Regions from separate parts of the Homo sapiens genome. Here region 2 is linked to region 1. The links are contacts of gene promoters, found by promoter capture Hi-C in human tissues and cell types (Jung and others, 2019). All regions are on one chromosome and are shown on one strand. Each heading gives the region's core, a stretch centred on a gene start or on the middle of the fragment in contact. The rest is flanking DNA. Distances are from core to core; before and after follow the strand shown. Region 1 holds the start of CCDC63 (coiled-coil domain containing 63). Region 2 has its middle 48 kb from the start of CCDC63.

Evidence for each region. The method cuts DNA at HindIII sites, captures the fragments that hold promoters and counts their contacts. A contact is called where the count stands out against the background at its distance.
Region 2: a contact is called between a fragment that was not itself captured here and the fragment with the promoter of CCDC63 in region 1, in 1 of the 25 tissues and cell types used here (heart right ventricle).

The regions. Positions count from the first base shown.
Region 1 is chr12:110,845,579-110,851,320 of GRCh38, forward strand. It overlaps CCDC63 (coiled-coil domain containing 63), which reads left to right and starts at 1,409. Exons shown (of 12, transcript NM_152591.3): 1 at 1,409-1,527. The HindIII fragment of the contact is 19,678 bases long and covers 1-5,742 here.
Region 2 is chr12:110,795,979-110,801,699 of GRCh38, forward strand. No RefSeq gene overlaps it. Among named protein-coding and RNA genes, the nearest start is that of CCDC63, 48 kb to the right of the region's middle. The HindIII fragment of the contact is 5,679 bases long and covers 1-4,947 here.

The DNA.
Region 1 (5,742 bases), core at 159-2,658:
ATATTGATGTTTCCTTGCAGAAACAGTAATTCGTTTGATCTGGACTGTGTGGCCCGAACCCTGTATGTAATATACTGTCCCACTGACTTCCCTCATGGTTACAACGTGGCTGCCAGCAACATTAGGGGCAACATACTCCCTTGCGTACCATATTATCTTTCTGAAACCAAAAACATGGTAAGTTCTTTTTTTTTTTTTTGAAACGGAGTCTCACTCTGTCACCCAGGCTGGAGTGAGTGTGATCTTGGCTCACGGCAACCTTTGCCTCCTGGGTTCAAGCAATTCTCCTGCCCTAGCCTCCCGAGTAGCAGAGACTACAGGCACCCACCGGGTGTGTGCCACCATGCCGGGCTAAATTTGTTATATTTTTAGTAGAAATACAAAAAAAAAAAAAAAAAAAAAAGAAATACACAGGGTTTCACCATGTTGGCCAGGCTGGTCTTGAGCTCCTGACCTTAAATGATCTACCTGCCTCAGCCTCCCAAAGTGCTAGGATTATAGGCATGAGCCAGCGCACCTGGCCTCCAAAATATGGTAAGTTCTAAAACACACATCCTGTCCCAAGAATTTACGGATGAAGTGGAGACCTTAGCAGGGCTGAGCTACTACAATCCACTCAGGGGGCTAGGAGTTAAAGTGGAAATCACATGGAATCAAAATTACTGTAGAAAACAGGTACCCCCAATAATTTTCCATTAATTCTGTGATTGTTTCTAGAGCTTAGCCCCAGAGAAAGTAGTTGACTTGTGTTTCAGGGCCGATTGTATGAAAAATGTGTATCTTTAAACCACTAAACTCCGTTAGGGCAGTGAAAAGCTCACTTGCCTGGATCACACTTGGGTTCCCGTGTTATGCTCACAGTGGGTGGGGGTCAGGTGGATGTTCTGAAGAAAATTCTCCTGCACTGATGAAGTTATTTTTCTCATGAAATATCTCTTTCCCCCCCCGCCCCAACATTTTTTTTTAATTTATTTTTACTTTATTTTATTTTTCAGAGTAGAAAAAACTGGGCTCCTTTGAGTTAGCTGCGTGTGAAGTCTGTACCTAGCAGGGCTGCTGTGAGCATGAGTGTAGGTGTAGGCTAAGAAGACGGTGAATGGGGTGTGAGTGGGGCGAGGTGGACCAGCGATTGCATGGCGTTGGCCGAGGGAGGGGCTAAGACTGTTGATTGACTCAAGAAGTCACTTAGCGTCATGAGGGTCCGGGTAGTCTGGTAAGGGGTCGCTGGAGAGTGTGTCGCCCCTCTCCCCCAACCAAAAGCTTCCCTCCAACCAGCTGCTCTTGTCCTCTCCTCCCGAGGGCCCTGTGCCCTCCCAGCGGACTTGCAGGGGAGAACGTCCATGTTTGTGCGAGTCACAAAGGCGCCCGTTCCAGGGGTCCCAGAACGCCCGGGCGTGGGGCTGGGGGTGTGGCGCAGCGAGGCCGCGCAGCAAGCAGTCCTCCCGGCACCGTCGGAAGCGCAGTTGCAGCAGCCGTCGGACAAGCGGCCGGAGCAGCCACGGACAAGCAGTCCGGGCCCCGCCACTGGTAAGTTTCGCCGCCCGCCCGGCCGCGCCTGCTGCGCCACAGCTCCCCCTGCCAGGGAAAAGGAAAGAGCGGTCGCGGTCCCCAGTCCATTCATATCTCGCTGCCCTAAGCGTTGAAAGTATCAGGGTCTCCCGCAATCATGCATAAATAAATTGTAGTGTGTAAAATAACTCCAGAGCCGCGCGAGGTGGCTCATGCCTGTAATTCTAGCACTTTGGGAGGCTGAGGCAAGAGGATCGCTTGAGCCCAGGGGTTCGAGACCAGCTCGGGCAAATTCGTCTTTACAAAATATTTAAAAACTTAGCCGGGCGTGGTGGTGCCACCTGTAGTCCCAGCTTCTTGGGAGGCTGAAGGGGGAGGATCGCTTAAGCCCGGGAAGGTTGAGGCTGCAGTGAGCCGAGATTGAACCACTGCACGCTAGCCTGGGTGACAGAGAGAGAGAGAGACGCTCTCAAAAAAGGAAAAAAAAAAAGTTCAACAAATTTTTATTTTCCTCCCATAATAATCCTTAAAAAACAAAAAACAAAACAAACAAACAAAAAACAAGAAAAACAACAACAACAACAAAAAACTGTGTATGTGTTTCTGTGCTCCTGTTTGGCTAGTGCCCTAAGCACATGTTTAATTCCAGGTTGTGCAGCCCTGGCTCAATATGATCCACATAGCTGCCTGTCCCAAGGTCCCTAGGGAATCCTTCGGGGGCAGGCTTGTCTTTTAAAGGCAGGTTGTTAAAATTCAGAAGCAGATGAGGTGCAGGCCTAATTAGATATTAGATAAATGAAGATGATCTCTGCCTGGAGGAAACTTCATTCATTCAAACTGTATTTGCCAAGAGCTGCCCATGCGCCCAGGACTATGGATGCTGTGGTGAATAGACTGAGGCCCAAGGGGCAGGAGGCCCTTGCCTGACGTCCCCTGACCTGGGCTGCTGGGCTTCTCTGCACTTTTCCTCGCACACGCTGTTCCCCAGAAGTGGGCAGCTTTTAGATTCCTAACAGGAACTGCAAATTCAAATTCCTACTGGCTCTAGGCAGTTACAGAAAATGTGAGAATTGTGGGGAGGGGAGCTTAGCCAATAGGGAGGAGTGGGGCCTGTGGCCAGGAGAGTGAGTGCATGACCCACATTTATGTTTTGAAACACTGTGGAACAGAACTGGAGGTAGGTTGAATTGGCCCCATGGACTATGAGTTTCAGACCCTTGAATGAGAGGGTGGTAAGCCAGGGGTCAGGACATCCAGGAGATGCTCTGCAGGCCAAGCTATGAGGATGGGGGTGAGGGGGTGGATCTGTTCCCCAGGGAATGTAGGAGCCCATCCCAGAGGGCACTGATCGAAAGGGAAAGGCCTGGGTTAACATCTGGAACCTGAAGAGAAGCCAGCACCCTAGGGGAGAGTGACTATGTATGCGCATATGGATCAGCAAAAAGGCAGGAGGTGATGGAGCTTTTGGTTCCTGGAGAATGGTGCATAACCCAGCCAATGATCTCATGGGCCAGACAGACTGGTACTTGAAAATCCCACTTCACAAACAGGCTACGTTCGCCCAGCGTCTGTCATGAGCTAGGCACTATGCTAACCACTTTACAGACATTATTTTGCGCTGAGATATGGGTGTGGGTATCCCCATTCTACAGATGAGGAAACTGAAGCTCAGAGAGGTCAAATCACACTGTCAGTGAAGGTCAGATATACCCAGTTCATGTTATTAAGATGGTGCATTACAAATCCACTTAGGACCCAAAGGGCCCTGGAACATAGAACAGCTCCTGGACAATATGAAATTGGAGCTGCCCCAAATTCCAGGGCTGAAAGAGGTCCCAGAGAGAGCATCCTGTGCCCAAACCTTGTTAGTCAGGTAAATCCTCCTACAGCTTCTACTCCTACCTGGAGGACCCTTCCAGAAATGATCAAGATACAGAACCATTGTCTTATACCACTTCCCTGCCTGTGGGAATTTCCCAACATCAGACAATTCAGTTGGCCCCCAAACCCTCAAAAACATCAGGGAAAATCCAGAGGTTCCTACATTACCAGCCACTATTTTCCTATCACCCATTAACCTGAGAACCATTTTCAAGGTATGGACCATGTCAGTTAGGAATGCTTTAGGCTTCAATGAACAAAATATTTGGTGACTGCCTTAAACAACAGTGACTCTTGCTATTTCACCTAACATGATGTCTAGAGGTAGGCAGTTCCAGGGATGGGGCAGTAGCCAACAGTGTCAGTTAGAACCTAAATTTTTTCCTGTCTTTCCTCTTTGCTGTCTTTAGGTGTGACGGTGATATTTCTCTTCATGGTCATGGGAGGGTTGCCACTGAACCATCATGCATGCCTTCACAATAATTTCTAAAAGCAGAAGGAGAGAGGAACACGAACAAGCTCTTATTTCCTTTTTTTTTTTTTTTTTTGAGATGGAGTCTTACTCTGTTGCCCAGGCTAGAGTGCAGTGGTGCGATCTCAGCTCACTGCAACCTCCATCTCCCAGGCTCGAGTGATTCTCCTGCCTCAGCCTCTTGAGTAGCTGGGATTACAGGTGCCCACCACCATGCCCAGCTAATTTTTGTATTTTTAGTAGAGACGGGGTTTCACAATGTTGGCCAGGCTGGTCTCAGTCTCCTGACCCCAAGTGATCTGCCTGCCTTGGCCTCTCAAAGTGCTGGGATTACAGGCATGAGCCACTGCGCCCGGCCCAAGTTCTCACTTTTTGTCCCAAAGGAATGGAATATACTTCTCCTTATGTCTCATTGGCCATATCTGGGTCACATGTCTATCATTAGACCAATCATTGACAAAGGGAAGTGGGGTTACCATGATTAGCAGGAAACAATCATGAGTCATCCTCTGGGACTGGGCACATTGAAGGGGTACAAAATCAGATTTGTGTTAGGCAGAAAGAAGTTAGGGTATTCTCTGAGGCATGCTAGCTGCTATAACAAATACATCCCCACATTTCACTGGCTTAACACAACAGAAGTTAATTTCGCATTTGTGTAACAGCCCAATGAGGATGTTCATGGTTGGCAGATGACTTCTTCTACAAGTAGATCTGGGGACCTGTCTTGTGGCTCTGCCTCCTGTAAATGTCAGATGAGGCAAGAAAGGATGGAAAGGTCACATCCACTTCTTAAAAGTCATGATCTGGAAGTGACAGACTTCCCCTCTGCTCACATCCCATTGGTGAGAATTCATCAGAGAGCCCTGCCTGGATCTGAGAGGAGCAGGGAGGCGAAGCCCTGGTTGGGCAGCTAACTCACACAACAATGCCACATGGAGGGAAGCGACTGTTGGGGAGGCAATGAACTGATCTCTTCCAGGCTGATCTATCTCATCCTTGCTTTTAAGAAGCATCCAGGCTGGACGTGGTGGTTCACGCCTGTAATCCCAGCACTTTGGGAGGCCGAGGTGGGCGGATCACCTGAGGTCATAAATTCGAGACCAGCCTGACCAAAATGGTGAAACCCCGTCTCTACTAAAAATACAAAATTAGCCGGGCATGGTGGTGCATGCCTGTAATCCCAGCTACTTGGGAGGCTGAGGCAGGAGAATCGCTTGAACCCGGGAGGCAGAGGTTGCAGTGAGCCGAGATTGTGCCGTTGCACTCCAGCCTAGGCAACAAGAGCGAAATTCTGTCTAAAAATAAGTAAATAAATAAATAAAAATAAAGAGCAGCGTCCAGTCTTTTACAGATCTCTTTGCTAGCCACTTTCCACTAGATACTGCCTATACTTGAGCGCAAATCGTTTTCTGAACACTCCTTTCAGTCACTTCCTTCTCACCCTTTGCCCGAGCAGTTCTCTCTGCCCAGAATACGCCCCCAACCTCCAACTTTTCTTCTCTGCCTGGTGAACTCCTATTCATTCCTCAAAACCCAAGTTAAAAGTCATCTTCTTTGTGGAGCCTTTTTTACTATTTTGTCATAGGCAGGATTTATGGCACTTTGCAGGCTGACTTACCACTGAATTCCACAGTGTGTAGCATACAGTGGGGGCTCAGTTTATGTGCTAAATAGATGTAAGTACTTCAGGTATGAGAACTCATTTGGTTGCAAGCAATAGAAAATGCATCTCAGGTTGCTTTAATGGAATATACTGATTTCTGTAATTGGACATTACCCAGAGGTATGTTCAGGCTTGGCTAAATGCTGGTGCTTGCTTGGATGATGTTCTCAAGCCTCAAGATTCAGTCTGTCTTCATTTTGTCTTCTCTCCTCCA
Region 2 (5,721 bases), core at 858-3,357, 49 kb before region 1:
TGGGTGACAGAGAAAGACTGTCTAAAAAAAAATAAAAAAAAGATAGTAAGATAGTGACAGGCTCTACGGGAGAATTCTAATAAGATGGTGTAGTAGGCAGTAGCTGGGTGGGAGTGAGAGTGGGTGTGCCTCATTTATATAGGAATGGGGTCTCTAAAGAGGCGACTTTTGGACTGAGATCTAAATGGCAAGGTCAAGCCAGCTACACAAATAGGTAGGAGAGGGGAGAGGATTTCAGGTGAAAGGAACAGCACATGCAAAGGCCCTGAGGTCAGATGAAGCCTGGTGTGTATGGGGAACAGGGAGGATGCATGTGGCTAGCATAGAATACAGGAAAGGCTGAAAGTTCAAGATATAGGCCACAGCCAGATGAAACAAGTGTGTGGCAGCTGCATAAAAACTTGGAGAGGCTGTTGAGTGCAGTGGCTCACACCTGTAATCCCAGCACTTTGGGAGGCTGGGGTGGGAGGATGGCTTGGACCCAGGAGGTTGAGGCTACAATGAGCTGTGATTGCGCCACTGCACTCCAGCCTGGGTGACAGAGTGAGACCCTTTCTCTAAAAAAACAAAAAAAAAAAAACAAAAAAAAAGCCATAAAATACAAAATAAAATAAATTTTTAAATAAAAACGTGGAGCGCTTAAGCAGGAGAATCATGCTTTCTCAGGGTGCTGTGTGGAGAGTAGGCTGTGGTGTGGCAAGAGAGGGAGTAGGGAGCAGGTTGAGGAAGTTCCTGAAGTCACCCTGGTCTGAGAAGGCAGTGAGCTGGACCAAGGTGGGAGCCGTGGAGACAAAATAAAGATTGGGGAAATGTTTGGAAGGAGAGCCAATAAAATGACGATGAGTTATAGTTGGGGGATTCAAGAGAAGAATCAAGGTTAAATCCTTGGTTTCTGGCTCAAGCAACTGGGCAGATGTGATGGGGCCATTTATCGAGATGGGGAATATGAAGGAGTAGGTTTCAGTGAGGGTGGTTGGAGAGCGAGGAGGATGAAATGGAGACTCTCTATTCTGGACGTGGCAGGTTTGCTATGGCCATTGTACCTTCCGGCTGACATGTCAGTTAGCAGGTGGATAATGGTCAGGGACTTAAGGTGAAGGCAGGGGAGGAGACTGATGAGTCATCCTATGAGTGATCCTTAAAGTCTCAAGACTGAGGAGATTGGGCAGGGAGTGAGTGAAGACAGTCCCCTTCCGGAGACAGGAGAGTGATGAAGATGGTTGTCACTCAGGGTGGAGGGCTGGCTTCCAGAATGGTGACTCGGTCGTCCGGGCGAAGAGGCTTAGGCCTGTAATCCTAGCAGTTCAGGAGGCTGAGGCAGGCAGATTACCTGAGGTCAGGACTTTGAGACCAGCCTGGCCAACATGGTGAAACCCCATCTCTACTAAAAATACAAAAATTATCCGGGTGTGGTGGCGCATGCCTGTAATTCCAGCTACTTGGGAGGCTGAGGTGGGAGAATCGCTTGAACCTGGGAGGCAGAGGTTGCAGTGAGCTGAAATCGCACCACTGTACTCCAGCCCAGACGACAGAGCGAGACTCGGTCTCAAAAAAAAAAAAAAAAAAAGAATGGTAACTTGGGACATCCAACAGCTCAGGCTTCTACCCATACCCAGTGGGGCCTGGAGGGGCCCTGACTGGGGTCGCTGTGATATTCTGGAAGCTGGATCTTAGCCACTGTCCTCAGGGTCTTTGACCTTTTATTTCAATGCCCTCATTCTGAAGGGCCTGAGCTGGTCATGATCTGGACTTGCTATTTCCCTAACATCTTCCTCCTAGAACTTCAGAAGCCTGGCTGGGGTGCTCAGGAAGCTGCTGTTCTCCCCTAAGGGGCAGGAAACTGGGACAGCAGGTACCTCATTCAAGGTCACAAGGGTTAGGGCAGGGCTGCCTACAGAACTGAGGAGGCCAATCCCTCTTCCATCCATGCCCACATTGGTTTGACTTATCACCAGGCTTTTGTTGTGCCAAGTGGAGTATGAAAACAAAAAACTCCTCGGAATAATGAAGATGTTTAGCAAGGGAGGAGGGAGAGAAGACATCCTGGATAATACAGCTTAAGGAGAGAAGAGAAGTTTAATACAGAAATCTGAAGCCAGGTACTGTGCATGTACCTGTGGTTTCAGCTACTTGAGAGGCTGAGGTGGGAGGATCACTTGAGCCCAGGAGATTGAGGCTGCAGTGAGCTATGATCACACCATTGCACTCCAGCCTGGGTGACATGAGCAAGACCCTGTCTCTAACAAAAAAGAAAAGTTTGACAACATTTAGTTCATAATATGTGATGTAATTCCATATTAGTCCGTTTTCACACTGCTATAAAGATACTACCTGAGACTGGGTAATTTATAAACAAAAGAGGTTTAATTGACTTACAGTTCTGCATGGCTGGGGAGGCCTCAGGAAACTTACAATGAGGGTGGAAGGAGAGAGAGCACAGGGGAAATGCCAGACACTTATCAAACAACCAGATCTGTGAGAACTCCCTCTCTATCACGAGAACAGCATGGAGAAAACCACCCCTATGATCCAATCACCTCCCATCAGGTCCCTCACTCAACACGTGGGGATTACAATTGGAGATGAGATTTGGAAGGGGACACAGAGCCAAACCATATCAAATATCATCCTTGGTCTCCACTAGGAAACTTAAGCAAAAGTACTGTATGTCAATGCTTTAGGGGTCAGGTTTGTGGTTTGGGGGTGGAACAATGTGCTGAAACCAGTCCTTGGAAGATTCTGGAGTCTCAACTACATATGGGTTATGTCGGGAATAGTTGAGGAATGCCATGGGATGCTTTCTGCTCCAGATTGGAACTCCTGGAGATTGGGAAACACATGAGTCACTTCTGGGCCCCCACTAACCAGCACTGTGCATGAACAGAGTAGGGGGTTCAGGAATTGTTTGTGGAATGAATGAACGAATGAGGAGAGGAGTAGGTCCCAGGCATGAGCCACTGCACCCAGCCTTTTCTTTGTTTTTTTCTGAGGTAGAGTCTGGCTTTGTCACCCAGGCTGAAGTGCAGTGGCACTGTCTCCACTCACTGCAACCTCCACCTCCCGGGTCCAAGTGATTCTCATGCCTCAGCCACCCAAGTAGCTAGGACTACAGGTGTGTGCCACCACACCTGGCTAATTTTGGTATTTTTAGTAGAGATGGGGTTTTGCCATATTGGCCAGGCTGGTCTCAAACTCCTGTCCTCAGGTGATTCGCCTACCTTGGCTTTCCAAAGTGCTGGGATTACACGTGTGAGCTGTTGTGCCCAGCCCAAATTCTTCTTAGCTTTGACTCTCTCTGACCTCTTTTAAGGGCTTACTGGATTAGGTCAGGCCACTTGAGGCATTTTCCCTTTTGATTAACTCAGATTCAATTGATTAGGGACCTTAATTACATCTGCAAAATCTCTTCTGCTTTATAATGTAACATAATCGTAAGAGTGATAACCCACTATCTTCATAAGTCTTTTTTTTTTTTTTTTTTTGAGGCAGAGTCTTGCTCTGTCACCCAGGCTGGAGTGCAATGGCGCTATCTTGGCTCACTGCAAGCTCCGCCTTCTGGGTTCACGCCATTCTCCTGCCTCAGCCTCCTGAGTAGCTGGGACTACAGGCACCCGCCACTGTGCCTGGCTAATTTTTTTTTGTATTTTTAGTAGAGATGGGGTTTCACCAAGTTAGCCAGGATGGTCTCGATCTCCTGACCTCGTGATCCACCCGCCTCGGCCTCCCAAAGTGCTGGGATTACAGGCGTGAGCCACCACACCCGGCCCATAAGTCTTGACACACACAAAGGGAGGAAAGTATACAGGGTATGTACACCAGGAGGTGGGATCTTGGGAACTGTTTTAGAATTCTGCTTACTACAACAGTGTAGCACCCTTCCACACTGAATAGTGCTGACCTGTGTGACCAGATGGATATTGCAGAAATGATGGTGTGTGATTTCCAGGTCTGAGTCATAAAAGACATTATGGCTTCTATCTTGCTCTTTCTTTCTTGGATCACTTGCTCTGGGGAAATCCAGCTGCCATGTTGTGAGGATACTCAAGCAGCCCTGAAAATCACAAACGTACACACACAAAGAATTTATTTAAAAAACACATGTGGCCTCCATCACTTGGAGTCTGTCACTTGGAGCCTGGAACTCAGAACTATCATGGCACAACCACAGTCCAAAACCTTCACTCTCATGACTTATACGATTTAGACTCCAGAGAAAAGCTTCTCCACATCCCTTAGATTAGGTCCTCAAAATAACAACTGTGTCCTAATGCAGTGAAAGTTCATGGGTTGGGCTGCTGCCAATGTTGGAGATGAATGTGCTTATAGGGGGCAAGGATAATTTAAGAATTTGAGGCACTTAGATAAGAGCAAAGACCAGTGAATTAATTTACCAAATTCTCCCTCTCTGGCTGGGCGTGGTGGCTTATGCCTGCAATCCCAGCACTTTGGGAGGCCGAGGTGGGAGGATCACTTGAGGTCAGGAAGTCAAGACCAGCCTGGCCAACATGATAAAACCCTGTCTTTACTAAAAATACAAAAATTAGCTGCTGTGGTGTCATGTACTTGTAGTCCCAGCTACTCAGGGGGCTGAGGCATGAGAATTGCTTGAACTTAGGAGGCAGAGGTTGCAGTGAGCTGAGATTGCGCCACTGCACTCCAGACTGAGACAGCCTTCTTTCTGTGTTCCACTTTGTGGTTCTGGAAGTCCTCACACATTAGTGTAATCTTTGCACAACTGCACAAGACAACTGTAGGGGACACATTCTAAAATGCTCCCCAGTGATCCCTGCCTTCTAGCATTCACACCCCTGTGTAATCCTCTCTGCTGGAGTATGGGAGGGCCCTGGGACCTGCTCTTAGCATATAGAATGCAGCAAAGGTAATAGGATTTCACATCTGTGACTACATGGCAGAGGATTGTAACTGCTGTCTTACATGCAGACTCTTCCAATTGATGTTCTTCTTTGCTGGCTTTGATGAAGTAAGCCACCAGAGGAGTTGGCCCATGTGCTTAGAAACTGAGGGTGACTTCCAGCCAACAGCCAGCAAGAAACTGAGGCACTTAGTCTGACAGCCTGAACTGGATGCACAACAACTGTATGACCTTAGAAGCAGATCCTTCCCCAGGCGAGTCTCAGATGAGACCCCAGCCCTGGCTTGACACCTTGATTGCAGCCTTATGAGACCCTGCAGCAGAGGACCCAACTAAGCCATTTCTGGATTCCTGACCACAGAAATGGTGAGATAGTAAATAAACTGCCAAATTTATGGTAATTTGTTAGGCAGCAATATATAACTACCACAACAAGAGGATCATTTAGAAACATTAAACAAATTGGCTGGGTACAGTGGCCCACATCTGTAATCCCTGCACTTTGGGAGGCCAAAGTGGGCAGATTGCTTGAGTCCAGGAATTCAAGACCAGCCTGGGCAACATGGTGAAACTCCATCTCTACTAAAAATAGAAAAATTAGCTTGGCATGGTGGCAGGCACCTGTAATCCCAGCTACTCAGGAGGCTGAGGCAGGAGAATCACTTGAACCAGGGAGGTGGAGGTTGCAGTGAGTCAAGGTCGCACCACTGTACTCCAGCCTGGGTGACAGAGCGAGACTCCGTCTCATAAAAAAGAAATACATAAAAAAGAAAGTTAAATGCATTTTATTTGACAACTGTAAGCTTGATTTATCCCATGAAGATGTTTAGCTGGTGTGGTGGCATGTA